Regions from separate parts of the Homo sapiens genome. Here all the other regions are linked to region 2. Evidence: promoter capture Hi-C in 16 types of primary human blood cells and fetal thymus (Javierre and others, 2016). All regions are on one chromosome and are shown on one strand. Each heading gives the region's core, a stretch centred on a gene start or on the middle of the fragment in contact. The rest is flanking DNA. Distances are from core to core; before and after follow the strand shown. Region 1 has its middle 18 kb from the start of MIR6715B. Region 2 holds the start of SMNDC1 (survival motor neuron domain containing 1). Region 3 overlaps ACSL5 (acyl-CoA synthetase long chain family member 5). Region 4 overlaps ZDHHC6 (zDHHC palmitoyltransferase 6). Region 5 overlaps VTI1A (vesicle transport through interaction with t-SNAREs 1A).

Region 1 (4,011 bases), core at 150-2,649, 2.0 Mb before region 2:
CTTATGGGCCTTCTCAGTGGACAGAGTAGGGAAATGCGTGTGCATACTAACCCGTATGTATACATATCTCTATAACTACACATGCACCCATACACATATATCTGCATCTACATTAAACTAAACATGAGTTCCCATTGACGTCTCCAAATCTAACTCATCGCCATCACGGTTCATTGCAGTCTTCCCCATTACTTTTCTGTAAATTCCAACATTGAGATACTGGCTCCCACCATCCACCATCCATGTACTTTGTTCGATCCCTATGTGTGTGTTCGGTGATTTTAGACTTGTTAATCTGCATCCCCATGAGAAACAGTTTTACCAACTAGAGTACGATGATTATGAATAGTTCCTTTTGCCTTTAGTCTTAGAAAGTTTCTAGTGATTTCACAAGCGATGTAGGTCAGCATTCTTTCTCACTCATCCCATTCAGTAAGGTTATGCCATATATTTGTAACACTGTTAGATTCTTTTATCGCTGTTTGCATTCTATCTTGGGGTTGCCTAATTTCCCAATTGGTATTTTTTAAAGTTTGCTTTCCTTATGGCTTACTTTTGTGCTATTAAGCTCTATGGGTTTTGGTAAATACATAGTGTCATCTATCCACCACTATAGTATCCTACAGAAAAGTTTCCTCATCCTAAAATTATCCCCTGCACTTCACCTAGTCAACGCTCTCTGCTCCTCAAACTCTTGGAAAACACTGATCTGTTTTCTGTCTCTAAAATTTTGTCTTTTCTAGAATGTATATTTCCTTAATTTCTGGGAAGACAAGAAAGTCTCATTTTGCATATCTCCTGCCCCAGTGCTAGATGCAGTCAATTCTCCAAGAAGCCATGACTTCTTTTGTTGGAGAAAGGTATTAGAAAGTAAGCAGATAACGAGGTCAAGAGATCGAGACCATCCTGGCCAACATGGTGAAACCCCATCTCCACTAAAAGTACAAAAATTAGCTGGGCGTGGTGGCGCATGCCTGTAGTTCCAGCTACTGGGGAACCTAAGGCAGAAGAGTCGCTTGAACCCAGGAGGCGGAGGTTGCAGTAAGCGGAGATCACACCACTGCACTCCAGCCTGGGCAACAGGGCCAGAGTCTATCTCAAAAAAAAAAAAAAAAAAAAGAAAAAAAAAAGAAAAGAAAAAAGAAAGAAAGAAAGAAATGATGCTAGATATGCCCACTGCTGCTTGCGTGTTGTTGCTTCTGGGGTGCCATGTAAATAGAATCATACAGTACACAGCCTTTTCTGACTGGTTTCTCTAACTTAGTAATAATGCATGTAAGACTTATCCATGTTGTTGCACACACAGTATTTTTATTTTTATGCCAAAACATGTATACATTGTTCTCAAAATATTATTTTCTTGACAACATCTGGTTAAGCAGAATGTTTAATAAATGTCAGTAGGAGCCAGTGAAGAAGTGGGAAAAATTAGGTTTAGAAAATCGGACAGAGAGGCAGGACATGATGGTAACATTTATTACGTGTTAAAATAGCATTTCTGCGACATATTACAGAAAATTTAACAAAATTGCATGAAGCGCGCTTTGGGGGTTTCCAACACGAAATGCCTATACATTCCTGAAATCATATAGAGATATGCTTCTCCTCAAGCAAAGTTCTATTTTAAAAAATCTTGATTTGAAAACAAATTAATTAGGAGGATGTTTGTTTATATGTTTTTCATTAGAATTGTTCATTTTCCAGGCAGATTCTCAGAGTATTCCTATTAAAATATCCAGATTACTTTGGAATTCTAATCTGTTCTATTTATTTAAAAACTCAGTTTACAAATATAAGAGCACAATTACTATTGAAAATGAAGTGTAGTAAGTGGCACAAAGTTCTGATGTTTGGCTGTCTAAACCCAACATGAATTTCAGAAATCATCAACCAAATCAAAGACCCTGCAGCAGCAGTCCCACTGCAACCTTCCCTGCCCGAGGAGAAGGGCAATGAAAAGATCGTGGCCATGGTGAGGGTGTGTTGGGATGAATCTCTGGAGAAAAGACCCAGTTTCTCTTCCATCAAGAAAACTTTACGAGAGGCCAGTCCCAGAGGGTGAGTTAGATGTGCAACAGATATTTGCTCTCACTCAGTTAACCATTAGGATTTTAGAGCTGCTGGGCATGGTGGCTCATGCATGTAATCCCAGTGATTTAGGAGGCTAAGGCAGGAGGATCCCTTGAGGCCGGGAGTTCAAGACCAGCCTGGGCAACATGGTGAGTTTCTGTATCTATAAAAAATAAAATAAAATAAAAAATTAGCCAGGCGTGGTGGTGTGAGCCTGTAGTTTGAGTTTCTTAGGGGGGCTGAGAATTGCTTGAGCCCTGGAGGTCAAGGCTGCAGTGAGCTATGATTGTGCCACTGCACTCCAGCCTGGGTGACAGAACGAGACCCTGTTTCTAAAAAACAAAACAAAACAAAATTAAATCTATATGGCCGTGATTGGTTCTATGTGACTCATTCCCTTCCTCCCTCCTCCCTTCCTCCATTCCTCCCTTCCTCCCTTCCTTCCTTCCTTTCTTCCTTCCTCATACACTCACTCAGTGCTTACCATACACAAAACACTGTACTACATGCTGGTTACAGTGGAGTGAGAAATTTTTCCTTTATTTCATAAATGCCACAAAAATGGATCAGATATTAATAATTCTACTGCCTTCTTTGTCTATCTCAGGTGTCACTAATCAATTAAGGCCCTTGTTTCCAGGGAGTTTTGACATGGCTTCAGAGTCTTTTTCAAATCAGCATTCCAAGGGTTAGGCTAATCAATTTGGACTGGACTGTGGGATAAAAATTACTCACCACCCATAGAGTAGGTTATGACTTAAATTACGCATTCCTCTCCAACAACTTTCTCAATAGTAGCTTCCTTTACACCAGATAATTGTATCATCTTTTAGTACATGAATTTAGGAAGACATGCCCATGTTAGAGGTAGCTTGAGTTGGTAGAAAGAGCCCCAGGCTAGGAATCAGGTGTCTACTCTTAATTTGGACCTTCAGCTATGCATTATTTAAAAAAACAAAACAAAACATTTTTTGGAGTCAGGGTCTGGCTCTGTTGCACAGGCTGGAGTGCAGTGGCATGATCTTGGCTCACTGCAATTTCTGCCTCCCGGCTTCAAGTGATTCTCATGCTTCAGCCTCCTGAGCAGCTAGGACTGCAGGTGTGTGCCACCATGCCTGGCTAATTTTTGTATTTTTAGTAGAGACAGGGTTTCGCTATGCTGGCCAGGCTGGTCTCAGACTCCTGACCTCAGGTGATCTGCCTGCCTTGGGCTCCCAAAGTGCTGGGATTACAGGCAAGAGCCACCGTATCTGGCCTCAGCTATGCATTCTTAACACAATAGCCCTGGGTTCTGCATTTCCAAGCTCGTAATAGTTTTTAAATTTTAAAAATCATTTTTAAATGATTTTTAAAATTAACAAATGAGGCTGGGTGTGGTGGCTCAAGCCTATAATCCCAGCACTTTGGGACGCCGTGGCAGGTGGATCACCTGAGATCAGGAGATTGAGACCAGGCTGACCAACATGGTGAAACCCCATCTCTACTAAAAATACAAAAATTAGCTGGGCGTGATGGCACACACTTATAACCCCAGCTACTCAGGAGGCTGAGACAGGAGAATCGCTTGAACCTGGGTGGTGGAGGTTGCTGTGAGCTGAGATTGCAGCACTGTACTCCAGCCTGGGTGACAGAGCAAGACGCCATCTCAAAAATGTAAAATAAAATAAAATTAAAATTAAAATTAACAAGTGAAACATTGTTTATATTTATGGTATACCATGTGATGTTTCGGAATACGTATACTGTGTAGAATGATTAAATCAAGGTAATTAACCTAAAGATACCTCTTAAGTAAGCTTAAGATACATCCCCATATTTTTTACTTAGAAAATATGGACCTCAATGTTATGACAAATCTATTTTCCTATGTGAGTCTAGGTCTCCTCATCTGAAGATGAGGAATTTAAATGAGTTCTCTGAAGACGCTTCGAAAACAAAGGA
Region 2 (4,194 bases), core at 521-3,020:
AATGTTGCATAGATAAAAACAATCCTAAAAACAATCCTGAAAAAATTATTAAGATGGTATAGAAATCTATGATGGAACTTATAATGAATATTTGCCTATTTTCTGATCTATGGGGTTCAGGAAAAGTTCTCATTTAAGAGATTTTTACACAATAAGGTTGACTTTATATTCAAGGAAGTTCCTCCTCGCATCGGTTCTTAAAACACACAATTACAATAACAGAAGTTCTCTAAAACTACATTTTATTTTAAACGAATATTTATTTAAAAGCACATGCTTTCTGTTTTGTCTGCCTTCTTAATTCTAGCTACACACTGCTGCCCTCTGCTGCAATTTCAATCTTTCACACTCACAAACCCGACCTAGTTTCCATCTATACAGGTTATCTGACTCACTGCAAGGGTTATGTGTGTGTGTGTAGAGAACAAAAGGGAAGGCTCCTTGAAAAGAAAACTAGGAACTAAAGATGTTGGCACAGTTCAAAAGAGCCCATCTGAGAAGTGGGCCTTTTTTTTTTTTTTTGAGACGGAGTTTCACTCTTGCTGCCCAGGCTGGAGTGCAATGGCACGATCTCGGCTCACCGCAACCGCCGCCTCCAGGTTCAAGCGATTCTCCTGCCTCAGCCACCCGAGCAGCTGGGATTACAGGAATGCACCAACATGCTCGGCTTTTTGTTGTTGTTGTTGTTGTTGGTTTTTTTTTTTTGTATTTTTAGTAGAGACGGGGTTTCTCCACGTGGTCGAGCTGGTCTCGAACTCCTGACCTCAGGTGATCCGCGAGAAGTGGGCCTTTTTATGGATCCAGCAACAAACTCCCAACCTCCCAGGAAAGGTTGCTTCCTGTCATCTATATAAAACTTTGTGTCTCAGGCCTTTATTGCTTTTTTAATTGAAATAAATTATATATATATGGTTTAAAAAAAAAAGAAAAGGAAAAAGGGTAAACAGCAAAGAGGGTAATCAATAAAACATTTGGCTTCCACTCCAAACCTCTGAACAGTTTTGTGTATCCGTCCAGAAAGCGTATATATTATTACAAACATACACAAGGGGCATTTCTTTTTGAACACAAATGTGAGTATTCCTACCACTCTTTACCATTCTAGACTAACTTGGACGTTGTTCCCTATCAGGCGAGATTAACCCAACTAAATTAAAACCAAGTAGGTTTTAACAAAACAGATTTTAAAGAAATCAATCTTCTCTCCAATAGGTTATTTCTGTCACGATTTAATTAGCTTTCTGTTACTACTAAGGCTTGTATCATATAAAGTAGTGGTTCTCAGGCTGGGCGCGGTGGCTCACGCCTGTAATCCTAGCATTTTGGGATGCCGATGCAGGAGGATAGCTTGAGCCCAGGAGCTGGAGACCAGCCAGGGCAACGTAAAGAGAGCCCCCACCAACACCCCCCGCCACCCACCACCACCGCCCCGGAAAAGCAGTGGTTCTCAAACGTCAGCGGACATTGGTATCATCTGGTGAGCTTATTAAAACAAGAGTCTCTGGATTCAGGAGGTCTGGGGTGGGGCTTGAGAATTTGCATTTCCAATAAATTCCAAGCCGGAACTCCAGGAAGATAACCTGCATTCCGCGCCTGGCGAAGCCCAGCTACGCCATTTCCTTCCTAGGCCCCGCCTACTTCGTGTCCCTGACAGCCAGGGACTGGCTAGAGGGCGCGCGGAGTCACGTGAGTCGAGCGACCTCGCGCGAGAGTTTGTATTTCTCGCGAGACTTCACCGTCTCTGTCTTTTCCTCCTTCCAGTGCCCGGCGTTCCTCCCTTCCCCCTCGCCGCCGACCGAGTTCTTCCTTTTCAGACCGGGTCGCCTTGCTGTCGTCGCGGTGATTTTCCTGCTACTGCTACTGCTGCTGCTGCCACCGCCACTACCACTGGGCTCATTTGCCCCGACCCCTTCCCGCCGCCCCGCCCCCAGCCCCACACAAGGTAACAACCCCCCTGAGGGAGAGAGTAAGGCCTGGCCGGGCCCGGGTCCCTCCCGAGGTGAAGCGGAGGCCCAAGGCTGAGGAGCCCGCCTCGCCGGAGACGCCCAGGCGCTGGCCCTGGATCCCGGAGCCACGGCCGTCTCTCAGCCAGAGCTGAGCCTCGGCGGCCCGGCCGGCGCTGGCCTCCGTGCGGCGGCGGCAAACACGGCCCGCAGGGGACCGGGTCGGGTGGGGCTGGGCGCCGCGCGGCTCCCTGTGGAGCCTGCCTGTTGGAGCGCGGCGGGGCTCCGGCGGTGGTCTTGGAGCTGGCGTGTGGATTTCCACGTCCGAATGATCGAGTTGTGGCGGGCTTTGAGGTGCTGCGTGGCGGGGAGGAGAGCAGCCTGGGTCGCTGTAACTCTTAGGGGGCCTTTGCAGGCTCCCAGCCTTTGGTTGGACGGGAATTTTACGAAGGAGAAGGGTCCTCGGAAACGTGGTACATTTGCTTATAAACCATCAAAAAAGGTTAATTGGTATCTTATTTTCAGGAAAATGACTGAGCTGGATTTGGCGAAAGGCACATTCGTTAGAATGCCTAAATGGGAGAGTACCTGTGCTGTTCTTTTTGCTGAAGATAATGCACCGATAAATATTTAAGCGACTGGGCGAAAGATTTTTGTTTTGGAGAGGCACTTTTAAATACACTCTTAATTGAATAGTTCAAGTAAAGATCGTAGTTTGTGTAGTTAATTTAAAAACGCACTTGTTTGGCTTTGGAAGCATACTGTAGTGCTTAAAAATAAGTATTTGGATTGTTTTTGAAAGTTTCGACTTTTCCAACAGAGTAGTGCTTTTTAAAAAGATAACACTGATTATTGAGCCGAATTCAGCACCTACCCTGTGGATAGGAGTTAAAAGAAAATTAGAAATTTCTTTGTATCTGTATGCTTTTTTAAAGTATGGAATGTATCTCAAGTTTATAATCCTCAGAATCTGTTGCCTTTAAGTTTGTGGTTTAGCTGAAGTCTAAACTGAGAGTAAAGGTAATGGTGGTAAATTAAGCTGCAGTGTTAGAAGGAGTTAGAGGCAAAAACTGGTAATTCAGGCAGACAGGGGAGTTAGTTTTTTATGCCTTGATTTTTGGTTTAGTTTTCATGGTCTAACCCTTTTTATTTTCCCTAGATGTCAGAGGATTTAGCAAAGCAGCTGGCAAGCTACAAAGCTCAGCTCCAGCAAGTTGAAGCTGCATTATCTGGAAATGGAGAAAATGAAGATTTGCTAAAATTGAAGAAAGATTTACAAGTAAGTATGGGTAGACAATTGTACTTTTTCTCTGTTTTTCAAATTATTGCTTGAATCCCTAAGTACCCAAAGCGCCTTTTGAGGGGTTACACCCCACCCTATGTATATATGTAAATTCTGTAGGTACCATTGCTTGTAGAAGTAGGGTTGCTTCCCCAGTTCTCAGGTTTCTGTACATCAGAGTGAAATATTGTTCTTTGTTATATAAATCTTGTGTGCTTACATAATTTTTAAAAACTAAAGTTGATAGAAATTTCCAAGTCTGTCAGATTTTCAAGACGAGAGGTACATGTAACTTCACAATGAAAAACGCTTTTAGTTTTTAAGACCTGGCAAATGAAATTTAGTTCAAAAAGTAACAAAGATTGAAGGAGAAAAATAGAACCTTAAGATTCTTTTTAATACCACAAGATTCTTTGAAAATGCGTGCCTTTTTTTTTTCCCCAAAGCTAGTGGATTACATTTTGTATTGAAAACACACCACAAAAATGCCTAAAGAGAGACAAGTGCTTTGTATAATTGTTACATAGATGTTCAGACTTAAGGCTAGGTTTTACAGTAAAGTTGTTGACACTTGTGGAAATTGAACTATGTGGTGAAAAGGAGATCTTTGTCATGGTAGAGTTTAGTAGATAATGAAACCTTTTTTTGAAAACCTGCACTGGGATTTCAAGACAAACATAGAGCCATCATAGTAAATACCTTTTGTGTTTCAGGACACCAGACTGATTCAGAAAAATGCCATATATAATTTGCAAATATATATGACTTTTAAGAGCTTCCTTTAAATTCTGAACCTGATTTTTAAAAAGTTTCAAGGGTGTTTTGATTAGAGATTGCTTTACCGACTGAGTACTAAACTCAAATCTGTATCCTGTCTAAAAATTCATTCCCTCCCTTTATTATCCCACTGCCCGTTAAAACTATTACTATTTTAGGGATATCAGAACTGCAAACAAACTTAACGGAAAT
Region 3 (3,844 bases), core at 1,193-3,692, 2.1 Mb before region 2:
TATTATGACAGAACTGGGGTAAGAAGAAGCAGTGTCAGAAGTCCACTGGATCTGATAAGGGGGTCTGTAAAAAGATAGGCCGGACAAAGTGCTAGGACCCTGTCACCTGTGCCAGGGTGAGGCAAGAGGTTGGGAAAGCAGACTTCTTGCCTTAGTTTTCTGCAGAATCAGCCCTTGCACTGCCTGTCCCAACCAGTGGTCAAGGGTCAACAGTTTCAAAGTGCAGGCAACAAGCTTTCTTGTCAACGGTGTCATTGCCAGGGGCAAACTTTCAAGGTCGTGCCCTTCCAGGTACCAGAGCAACAGCTCCTCACTTACTACATGTGTAGCCCTGGGGACAGTTACTTAGAGTCACTGAGCATCAGTTCCCCGCCACTGTACACAGAAGGAGCAGGTGAAAATCGCTACTTAAAGGAGATGCTGTGTGTAGAACAGTTGGTATGCTGTCAGGCACATGGGAAGTCCTCAATCAAATCTAGCTCCCCTTTCCTTCCCTTTTCCTCAGTTTTCACATCCTTGCCAATATCAGATGTTCTATTACGAGATGTCCCAAAAGAAAAGAGATGACCACGGTCTTGAACGATTACTGCCCCTCCACTTCTGTGCAAAGGTTTTAACAAGCCCTCATCTCTTTTTTTTTTTTTTCTTTTTTTTGAGATGGAGTTTCACTCTTGTCACCCAGGCTGGAGTGCAGTGGCGAGATCTCAGCTCACTGCAACCTCCGCCTCCTGGGTTCAAGCGATTCTCCTGCCTCAGCCTCCCGAGTAGCTGGGATTACAGGCAGCTGCCACCACGCCCAGCTAGCTTTTGTATTTTTAGCAGAGATGGGGTTTCACCATGTTGGCCAGGCTGGTCTCAAACTCCTGATTTCAAGTGATCTGCCTGCCTCGGCCTCCCAAAGTGTTGGGATTACTGGCATGAGCCACTGCGCCCGGCCAACAAGCCCTCATTTCTATTTAAACAGAGCACTTCTAGTTGTAGGGAACCATGGCCTGTCTCTGACCTAGCTTTACCCCAGACCTCAAATCCTCAACTTGAGCCACTCGCAACCTCACAACTCTTAGAATAGAATGGCCCATGAAGACTGGGAGATCCACCAGCTTCCCCAAAGAAGGCTAATAGTGTGGCCTGACCACAGCATTGCACGGGCTGTCTGACCTTCCAAACTCCAGATCTCATGTATTTATTCAAACAATGAGTTGAGAACCTAGGAAGTGTCAGGCCCTGCGCCAGGGAGGACAAGTTGGTGAGAGAGTCCCTTTCCGACCTCAGGATGTACAGACATAGAGGGGAGAAATAGACCCAGATGCATTTCCAGCAGAATGTGATAAGCAGTGATGGCTGGACTCATGGCTGCTGGGGTTACGTCACCCTTGCTTGATGCTGCCAGGCACAAGAGTCACCTCTGACTGCACTCCAGCTGAGGGTCTGCTCATCTGCTGAGGAGGCATATGAGAGACAGACAGGAGCAGACACTGTATTCCTGGTTTCTAAGAAGCTGGCAAATCCTATAGGCCAGGTGCAGTGGCTCACACCTGTAATCCCAGCACTTTGGGAGGCCTAGGCAGGCAGATAACTTGAGGTCAGGAGTTTGAGACCAGCCTGGCCAATATGGTGAAACCCTGTCTCTACTAAAAGTACAAAAATTATTTGGGCATGGTGGTGCATGCCTGTAATCCCAGCTACTCAGGAGGCTGAGGCAGGAGAATTGCTTGAACTGGGGAGGCAGAGGTTGCAGTGAGCCAAGATGTTGCCACTGCACTCAAGCCTGGGAGTCTAGGTGACAGAGTGAGGCTCCTCCAAAAAAAAAAAAAAAAAAAAAAAAAAAAAAACAAGAAGAAGAAGATTGTCTTGATTAAATATAAGAGTACCTACTGTGTACTGGTACTTCCCTGGCTTCATCTTCCCTCTCTCCATTCATTTCTCTCTCCTTCCTCCATCTCCAGCCTCCATGTAGTATCTGTGGTCTCACTATAGGTGGATGGTTAGGTATGCAATGACACGCTGATGTTGTTGTTGGTGTCTTTGCCCTCAAAAAATTACAATATAGCCTGGGAGAGACTATTTTAGGTCAGGCTAGGCTGAAATATTCTGTTTGGTCTGGATTAAAAAGTGTTTTCTCTTTTTTAATAATTAAATTTGAATGCATTTATCTGGGGTATGCCTGCTCTGAATTTTGCTAAAGTTTCCACCATTAGCATCTTATTACACACCATCTACTTTACTTCTCTATATTACTTGCCTGTCCTATAAGCATTTGCACTTACACTTCTTGTTTTATTTAGGTTTTTGTTCCTTTTATTATGCCAAATACACAAAAGATGGCTATAAAATTTTACACCATGCCTCTTTCAAGACATGTTCTGTGTTTAACCTTGAATACTGATCAATCGGAGGGGACTACCACAGAGTGACTCCATATCAGAATATGAAGGGAGAAATAAACAAAACCAATTACTCCTTTTTTAAAAGAAAACTAAGTCAGTTTTCAATGTTTTTTTATTTGTTTGTTTGTGTGTTGTTTTTGAGCCAGAGTCTTGCTCTGTCATCCAAACTGGAGTGCAGTGGTGCCATCTCGGCTCACTGCAACCTCCGCCTCCTAGGTTCAAGCAATTGTCCTGCCTCCTGAGTTGCTGGGATTACAGGCGTACGCCACCACGCCAAGCTAATTTTTGTATTTTCAGTAGAGATGGGGTTTCGCCATGTTGGCCAGGCTGGTTTCTAACTCCTGACTTCAGGTGATCCACCCACCTCAGACTCCCAGAGTTCTGGGATTACAGGTGTGAGTCACTGCGCCCGGCCTTAACTTTATTTTTTAAGACTCTGCCTCTGATATAGAATACTAATCACCTACACATTGGAGCTATAGATTCAATTCTACCTTTCAGACCACCAAAAAAAGGCTGATATCTCAGAAGGTACCAAGCCCCGGTGGTAGAGTCCCTTTCCAGTGCTTATTCCCTGAGGGTCTCCGGTGGTAGAGTCCCTTTCCAGTGCTTATTCCCTGAGGGTCTCCGGTGGTAGAGTCCCTTTCCAGTGCTTATTCCCTGAGGGTCTCCAGTGGTAGAGTCCCTTTCCAGTGCTTACTCCCTGAGGGTCTTTGAGATTCACCTTAGGACCCTCAGGGAGTGGGCATTGGGAAGGAAGTACTTAGGAATTAAGCAGCACCTGAGACTTAACCTGTGGCCTTACTTCCTAAAATACACTCAGCTCCATTCATCTGTCTCTCCCACCCCATTGGTCTCATTCATCAGTCTTACCCAACATAAAATTGAGGGCAAACCCCCAGCCCACCTCAGGGGAGCTATGCTGGATGCTCAGACCCACAAAAAGAGGTCTCTGTTTTGGTTCACCTTCCCCAAGAGAGTCGAGAGAAGGAAAGTGAGCCCCATGCATGCCCCACATCCTTCCTTCCCGTTGCTCCTCCTGACACAGGGTCTGAAGGCATGACCGAGACCAGGAGGGAGACAGCATGATGTGCCCGTGGAACTCAGCCGGCCCTTGATTCTAAGTCGCTTAAAGAAAGTCGGGGGTCAGGATGCCCCCTTGGCCTCTGTCACACCCTCACAAGACCCCCTTGCTGAATAACACCCCCTCGATGGTCCCCTTACCCTGCGAGGGGGCCGCATCTCTCAGTGCTTCTAGTGAATGGGGGCTTCCCGGCTCTGAGTTCTTCCTGCCACACGAGTCCCTGTCCTTCTTCCCTCGCTCGTGGTTCCTCCAGAGACAGGGTGGCTTCAGAGCGTCCATGCAGGCAGAAGGCCGGCCCAGAGTGTCCCCAGTTCTGCCCTGCTCTGAGCTGTCCCGAGTCAGGCCATGTCAGGCTTTCTAACGTGCTCGGGGA
Region 4 (3,874 bases), core at 786-3,285, 2.1 Mb before region 2:
CGGTAAGTAATAGGAAGTACTGCATTTCTTCTTCAAGGACAAAATTAATATCTAGCCTAAAAAATTAATTTTCATCTTTTAAATATTTCAGATACTGGTTATATGGAGACAAAATTCTTGATGATTCCTTTATAGAAGGTATGGAAATGGAAGGGCATGTTTAAAGGACAAGACTATTAGCAATAATTCCAAATTTTACAAGAATAACTTTTATAAACCAATCATGCCTAATGCATTAGGGGAACTGCATAGAAGGGTATATCACTAAGCAACAAAAGGAACTTCCTTATATATTTCTCTATAGCTCTTGTATTTTTCAGGTCTTTTTAATGATAGCTAACATTTGAGCTCATAACTATGCGAAAAGTACTTGTATAAGTGCTACCCTTAAGGTGTAGAAGTCCCCAAAATACTTCGGAGGTAGGCACTATTATTTATATTTGATTGAGGGAACTGAAGCACAGAGAGGCAACTTGCCCATAGCTATGCACTGAAAACAGATGGAGCTAGGGCTTAACCCCAAGCAGTCTGACTCCAGATTCTATGCACCAAACCCCTGTACTATTTGCTGCCCCCACTTTGAGCATTTCTCTTAAGTTGTTATAAAAACCAGTAGATTGAAACTTTGTGTTTTTTTTTTTCTTAAGTTTTATAATTGTTTCTTTTTAAAGTAAAGATTAGCTCGGGATGTTCTTTAAAAAATAGTTGGGGTTAATCATAAATTAACCTCTTATGACGGCCGTGATATAGAAATGTATATGTTAGGCCAGGTGTGGTGACTCATGCCTGTAATCCCAGGACTTTGGGAGACCAAGGCAGATGGATCACCTGAGGTCAGGAGTTCAAGATCAGCCTGGCCAACATGGTGAAACCCTATCTCTACTAAAAATACAAAAATTAGCCGGGCATGGTGGTGTGTGCCTGTAATCCCAGCTGCTCCAGAGGCTGAGGCAGGAGAATTGCTTGAACCCGGGAGGCAGAGGTTGCAGTAATCTGAGATCGTGCCACTGCACTACAGCCTAGGTGACAGAGCAAGACTCCATCTCAAAAAAAAAAAAGAAAGAAATATATATGTTAGAAAAAGTCTAAAAAGGAAATTTACAAAGACTACAAGAAGATAGTTCCCTGGAAAAGACAGTGTGATGGTGTGCCAAAAACACCTTTCCTGATCATACACATATAAGTAAACACCCATACCGAGTTCCCCCTGACTCTAGTTAGGAGCTGTCTTTAACCACATTAGTCCCTATTCGGGATCATCAAATTTGGGAAATACCTGTTCCTAGCTTGTTATGAACATTTAAAAATCTTATTTTTTTCCCCTTCAAACTGTGCTTATAATAGATAGCAAAGTGGGGAATAAAAGTCTAACTACAAGCTTATTAATTTGAAGTAATAGGACTTACTGCTTTCAGTAATGTCACTGTCATCCATCAGACTATTTCACCTCAATTTCATTTTCTCCCTCAGGTGTTTCAAGAATAAGGGGTTGGTTCCCTAGAAAATGTGTGGAAAAGTGTCCCTGTGATGCTGAAACAGATCAAGCCCCAGAGGGGGAGAAGAAAAATAGATAGCTGCTGTTAAAACAAAATTATCCTTTAAGTCTGCTTAATTACTTGAAAATTGTACATATTACTAAAGAATTATGCAATGAGCCTACTCTGGTTAAGATGTTCTTTTCCTCAAAGGTGCCCTAGTGCCATGATTTAAATATTTTTATTACCATTTTGAAATGGAGAAGCCATTCTGCATATGCCTTTGAATTCCTGCCCCTCTTTACCACCTCTTCCTCCCCCTCAAAGGAAAAACATTTCATCCAAGTAAGTTAACGGCATTTTCTGTAGGATTTTCTTATGCACTGCACACTCTGGACCTCACCTGCAGATACAGTTCCCCCCTTGCCAGGAGCATCTGCATGTGGTACTTCTCTTTTCCCTCAGTTGATATTTCTTATATGATATTCTAGATACTATAGAACTCAATTTGTCAGATTCAGTATAACCTCAGATTTTGTTACCTGTCTTTTAAAAATGCAGATTTTGTCAAATCAAATAAAGATCAATGGATGTTGGGTATAATCAGTTTTTACTTAAAGCATTTTTCTTTTTGCTGACTAAAAAGGTTCATCTTAGTTCCTTATGGAAAAACTGCTCTGCTGCCCTGTGGACAACTGGCATCTTAAAACGTGGCTTAAGACATGACACACTTGCTTCAAGATATTAACCCTATTAATGGGATATTGCGGTCATAGTGATGGCAGCGGATGGCAGTGGTGGCCTGAGGGGTGTTGAGGGGGAGCCGTGATAGGCAGGAGCCAAGCGTAGCTACAGCTGTCCAGCCGTGGCTGCGGACCCGGGCATCCTTGTGCTCTAGGGGGCCGAGGGGAAATACCCCCCCCACACCCCCCCCCCAACAACTGCTTGGCCTCTTCCTGCTCCTGGCACTCGCTCTGGAGCAAAGGTGAGGCCAAGCCCGGGTGCTGTGAGGACCTGGCCAGGTGTACGTGAGCTCTGAGTGGTGCTGACACCAGCGCCCTGCCGCCTAGGCCCCCTCTGGACTTTGGGCTGCCAGCCACAGAGGATTCCAGCTGGGGAAGCAACACCCCAAGGATCCCGTGGCAGTAGTGTTCTAGACTTTAAACATAGTGATATCAAACTACTCATGTACCCTTGAGTAAAAAGCTGAAGCTTGTGTGAGTGGTAGGATCCAAGCTGGTGGGCTTGGATGCTTAAATTGGGCTTGTCTAAACATAACAGTGGAATCACAGAAGGAAAGAGAAAGCCTATTTCTCTGGACTTCAGAAACCTTTCCAAGGCAGGGAATGTGAAGCTTTGGGGGCCAGGCCTGTAATAGTTGAGGATAAGGGAAGAGCACTTGGGAATTCAGCAGTGAACAGACAGGTAAAATATATGTAAGATGGAGTCATGTTATTGTGAAGCAAGAAGGTAGGACAGTCTTGAGTTGGCATTTGAAGCAGATGAGGGGACAAGTCATGTGCTTTGGGATATTTGCATTTTAGAGACAGCAGCAAGAACAAAAACAGGCTGGACCTGTGTCTGACACGTTTGAGAAACAGGAAGGTAACTAGTGAGGTTCAGCTGTAATGCGTGAGGGGAGAATAGGAAAGGAAGTGAAGGCGAGAAAGTTAAAGTGATAATGGGAGCTAGACTTTAAAAGTTAATTCCTGCCTACCCTTTTGTTTCAGATCCTTAAGAATAGATATTTCTTTGGCTTTTCTGGGCTCAAAATCTAGAAAGACCATCCAAGAACATTCTCTTTAACTCCAGTTGGAGGCCAGAAAAGAATACTATTAATATTCAAGATTATAATTAGAGTACAACAAAGATGGTAAAAGAATGGATATGACTTGTGCTCAGTTGGAGTTTTGGCTCAGCTGGTATTTGTTTTATTCTTTACAGCTATGGGATAAGAAGGTTTGGTCTTCAGAACTTACTTTTCTTCACTAACCTGTTCGCAGACTAGAATCATCTGTGGGTCTTCTTAACAATCTCAGTGCCCAGGCTGTATCCGGCCATTTAAGCCAGAATCCCTGGAGTGGCAACCAGGCATTAGTGGTTTTTTTGTTTTGTTTTTGTTTTTTTTTTTTGAGACAGAGTCTCACACTTTCACCCAGGCTGGAATGCAGTGGTGCGATCTCGGCTCGCTGCAAGCTCCGCCTCTCGGGTTCATGCCATTCTCCTGCCTCAATCTTCTGAGTAGCTGGGACTACAGGTGCCCGCCACCACGCCCAGCTAGTTTTTTGTATTTTTAGTAGAGATGGGGTTTCACCATAGTAGCCAGGATGTTCTCGGTCTCCTGACCTCATGATCCGTCCGCCTCGGCCTCCCAAAGTGCTGGGCATTAGTGTCTTTTT
Region 5 (3,874 bases), core at 1,208-3,707, 2.2 Mb before region 2:
TTCTGGCAGGTGTTTTGTAATTAGGAAAATCACATACCAACCAACATGTGATCTTTACCTTCATCCTAACTCCCGATACTTTATAACCACATTTATATGGCATTAAATGGATACAGTAATATGCTAAATTACATATAGCTTAATGAAATCACAGCAAGGCGCTTTTTTTTTTTTTAACAACCTGCTATCAGATAACACTTTGGATACAACACAGAAGAGTTTAATCAGCAGCAATGCAGAAATACTATAATGGTTTAGGCATAGGCTTTGAAGCCAGACTCTTACGTTGACATCATAGGCTCTACTACTTATTAGTCCTGGAATCTGGAACAGGTTTCTTAATGTCTCTGTGCCTTAGTTTTCTCACTTACAAAATAGTGTCTTTTTCACAGAGCAGCTGTGAAAACTAAATGAGGCAATTCTTATAATGTACTTAGAACAGTGTCTCTTACTTGATAATTGCTAGATTAAAATTAACTCTAGTAACGATGATTGCAAGTGATGAAGAAGATACAGCAAGCACTATACAAGATAGCAGAAGTGGCTTACTTGTAGTTGCCATTAAAAAATAAAAACCAGGCCAGGCGCAGTGGCTCACCCCTGTAATCCCAGCACTTCGGGAGGCCGAGGCAGGTAGATCACCTGAGGTCAGGAGTTTGAGACTAGCCTGACCAACAAGGTGAAATCCCGTCTCTACTAAAAATACAAACATTAGCTGGGTGTGGTGGCGGGTGCCTGTAGTCCCAGCTACTCGGGAGGCTGAGACAGGAGAATTGCTTGAACTGGGGAGGTAGAGGTTGCAGTGAGCCGAGATCGTGCCACTGCACTCCAGCCTGGGCGATGGAGCGAGACTCCGTCTCAATAAATAAATAAATAAATAAATAAATAAATAAATAAATAAATAAAAACCAGTAACAACAACAAATTGGCCCAGGCCATGTCTGCTAAAATCACATGCAAAAATGCTGCCATGTAGTTTACCTTTTAAAGCTTTCTAATAAGTTCCTTCCGGAACCCTACCAGCTTATCACTAATAAAACCTGTATTCAGTGTTAGCGACTGAATAACTACAGTAGCATACAGATAAACCACACAATCACCTTTCAATTAATAGGCTTCAATTTATTATAAAGAAAAAAGATAATTTTAATTAGCCTTGATTTAAACAGTGATAGTTTAAATGATTATGTCTCAACATAAATGAGAAGCACCAATAAATAAAATCATTACTTAGCAAGAAAATTATTTAAAATAACTCTCTGAGATCATCAATTATTTAGTTCTAACAAGGTAAACAGGATCATCTGGAAAAATAACAGCAAAAATACTTGCAAGCCAAAATCTGAGCCTTAAGTATATTTTTGTTGAAGATATTTTATATGGATATTTAAAACTAAATTAAAAGTAGGTAAGACAGAAAAAGGAAACACACAACAAGCACTTAAAATGAAACCAAGAATGAGGCTAATGTGCACTTGTTCCATGTTGTCACAACATTTATGTGGCCAGTGCAGAGTGGGAGAAAAGATCATTGCAAGATGTGTAGTGTCCAAGAGACTAATACAAATCAGATGGTCAGCAGAAACACAATTAATCCCAATAGTCAAATCAAAAGAGTTTTTCTCCCAAGGTCCTCATCAAAAGGGCAGTATCGGCTGCGCACAGTGGCTCAGGCCTGTAATCCCAGCACTTTGGGAGGCCAAGGTGGGTGGATCACCTGCGGTCAGGAGTTCAAGACCAGCCTGACTAACATGGTGAAACCCTGTCTCTACTGAAAATACAAAATTAGCCAGGCATGGTGGTGCATGCCTGTAATCCCAGCACTCTGGGAGGCCAAGGCGGGCAGATCACTTGAGGGCACGAGTTCAAGACCAGCCTGGCTAACATGACAAAACCCCCTCTCTACAAACAAACAAACAAAGTAGCCAAGTGTGGTATTGCTCTGTAATCCCAGCTACTTGGAGCACTGAGGCATGAGAATCGCTTGAGCCCAAGAGGCAGAGGTTGCAGTGAGCCGAGATTGTGCCACTGTACTCCAGTCTGGGTGACAGAGTGAGACTTTATATCAAAAATAAAATAAAATAGAAAAGCAACACACTCATAGGGCCACAATGCATAGTAACAAGTTGAGTCATGCTTGTAGTAGTTAGCTTTTAAAACCCCAAATTAAGACACAATACTTTTAGTCCTTTTTTGCTCCATGTTTTACTGATGTATTTATATAAAAAAGTAGTAGATGAACCAGAGCTCTGAGTTTAGCAAACTAGGAACAAATATTTACTCTATCACTTAACAGGATTTGGGACCTCCAACAAGTTACTTCATCTTTCTAAGTCTCAGTCTCCCCATCCACAAAATGGGAGTGGTAACAGTGTTGAGAATCACTTGGCCAAGGTTCTCTCATGCTGCTACATGTCTTGCCTGGTCTGCCAAGAATACAAGGTCCTGAGGACTCTGTCTGAGCCATTTTTCAGGATTGGGTTTGCGGGGAGCTCAGGGAGAGGAAATAATGTGTCCCCCTGGGACAAACAACAGCCTTGCTTATAGGCTGCTAGAAAGTGGCACATTTTCTAGGCTCTCGTTCTATTCCTCTAAGGTATTCTAATGCTGTTGTAAGCATACATCTAGGCCTGCCTGCATCACCACTGTGGGAATTCAGACTCAGGAACTGATGCAACCAGCCTGAAACACAGGCAACTGCTATTGTTGTGGGTAATAAAAATCTTTTGTCTCTGACCTAGGAGTCTCATGTCTTAGAGAAGACATGAGACATAGTCATCTATGAAACTGTAGCAAGCAAGTGAGTCACTTGAGAGTTTGCAAATAGCAGAAAATATCAGACCCTTTATCATTTTTGACAAATAATATTGTCTCACATGGTTATTGAGAAAATTAAATATTATAAAGCAAGTAGTATTTTTAATCCAGTGTCTGGTACCCAGTATGCCTTTATCCAGCATTAGCTATTTACAGCTGTTATGAAACGTATTATGATGGAATAAAAATTAGAGATAGATATTTAATGAATCACCTTTGCTAAGAAGAATAAAATCCCAAGAAGCTACTAAAATCTCTTCAATTTAAAAATTGACAAATTCTGAATTATAAAATGCTAATCAGCAATGCTTCACATTTCCACAATGTATAAAACAGGCTAGAGGAAGACATTAGCTTAAACGGCTCTGGCTGTGTGTTAAAATACATTACTGTCTGTACATACCAGTTCTTTCGCTTCTTCAAGCTGTTTCTCCACATTTGCAACCATCTGTTTCTTTTCATCTGAAACAAACAATAATACCAAGAAATTGCTAAAGATACAAATAAATTTAATATTTTAAAACTTCAATTTTTATATGCCTTTTTCCTTTCTGGTCAATCAGATTACAGAACATAAGGCAAAAGAGCATATCATTCTTTGGTGGGTTTGAAACCACTTTAAGCCATTGATTCCAGGCTATCTAGAAACATATAATCTGATAGAATACCTAATTATTAAGAGACACCATTTTTAAGAGAGACCTATTTTTAAGAGAGACTAAAAATTATGTTGCCCTTTAGGAGAGACTAAGTCAACAAGAGCAGATTTGTGCTGGCCTAAGGAATCTGTGAAGTCATAACTTTAATAAATTGGGAATAACTGATTTGTTAATACAATTTAAAAGTTATATACAAAAACACTTCCTAAAACTGGGCAAAAACAATCCTTTAAAAAATTGTACTTTCAGTAGCATGGAGAATCAGGTGTAATGGAATAAATATTTGAAGTTAGGACTACTGATTCCAAACCGAAAGCTACTATCTCACTCAATGGTTATGGGATCCTGGGCAAGAAATTTTTCTCTTTTTTTCTGAGACTCACTCTGTACTCTCTAAA

Evidence for each region. The method cuts DNA at HindIII sites, captures the fragments that hold promoters and counts their contacts. A CHiCAGO score of 5 or more calls a contact.
Region 1: a contact is called between a fragment that was not itself captured here and the fragment with the promoter of SMNDC1 in region 2, in 2 of 17 cell types (total CD4 T cells and naive CD4 T cells). The highest score is 6.8, in total CD4 T cells.
Region 3: a contact is called between a fragment that was not itself captured here and the fragment with the promoter of SMNDC1 in region 2, in 1 of 17 cell types (non-activated CD4 T cells). The highest score is 6.6, in non-activated CD4 T cells.
Region 4: a contact is called between a fragment that was not itself captured here and the fragment with the promoter of SMNDC1 in region 2, in 1 of 17 cell types (non-activated CD4 T cells). The highest score is 5.5, in non-activated CD4 T cells.
Region 5: a contact is called between a fragment that was not itself captured here and the fragment with the promoter of SMNDC1 in region 2, in 1 of 17 cell types (total B cells). The highest score is 5.1, in total B cells.

What each region holds. Positions count from the first base shown.
Region 1 is chr10:112,315,926-112,319,936 of GRCh38, reverse strand. It overlaps the pseudogene GUCY2GP. Among named protein-coding and RNA genes, the nearest start is that of MIR6715B, 18 kb to the right of the region's middle. The HindIII fragment of the contact is 4,938 bases long and covers 1-3,868 here.
Region 2 is chr10:110,302,496-110,306,689 of GRCh38, reverse strand. SMNDC1 (survival motor neuron domain containing 1) reads left to right here and starts at 1,770. Exons shown (of 6, transcript NM_005871.4): 1 at 1,770-1,942; 2 at 3,103-3,222. The coding sequence starts at 3,103. RefSeq lists a silencer at 1,939-2,258. The HindIII fragment of the contact is 6,895 bases long and covers 1-4,194 here.
Region 3 is chr10:112,376,216-112,380,059 of GRCh38, reverse strand. All of the region lies in intron 1 of ACSL5 (acyl-CoA synthetase long chain family member 5), which reads right to left. Among named protein-coding and RNA genes, the nearest start is that of ACSL5, 4.0 kb to the right of the region's middle. RefSeq lists enhancers at 3,211-3,711, 3,734-3,844, 3,712-3,844. The HindIII fragment of the contact is 4,411 bases long and covers 237-3,844 here.
Region 4 is chr10:112,428,504-112,432,377 of GRCh38, reverse strand. ZDHHC6 (zDHHC palmitoyltransferase 6) reads left to right here. Exons shown (of 11, transcript NM_022494.3): 9 at 1-2; 10 at 92-138; 11 at 1,471-2,078. The coding sequence ends at 1,574. Among named protein-coding and RNA genes, the nearest start is that of ZDHHC6, 16 kb to the left of the region's middle. The HindIII fragment of the contact is 1,309 bases long and covers 1,381-2,689 here.
Region 5 is chr10:112,459,929-112,463,802 of GRCh38, reverse strand. VTI1A (vesicle transport through interaction with t-SNAREs 1A) reads right to left here. Exons shown (of 8, transcript NM_145206.4): 2 at 3,221-3,279. Among named protein-coding and RNA genes, the nearest start is that of VTI1A, 15 kb to the right of the region's middle. RefSeq lists an enhancer at 2,499-2,793. The HindIII fragment of the contact is 2,929 bases long and covers 993-3,874 here.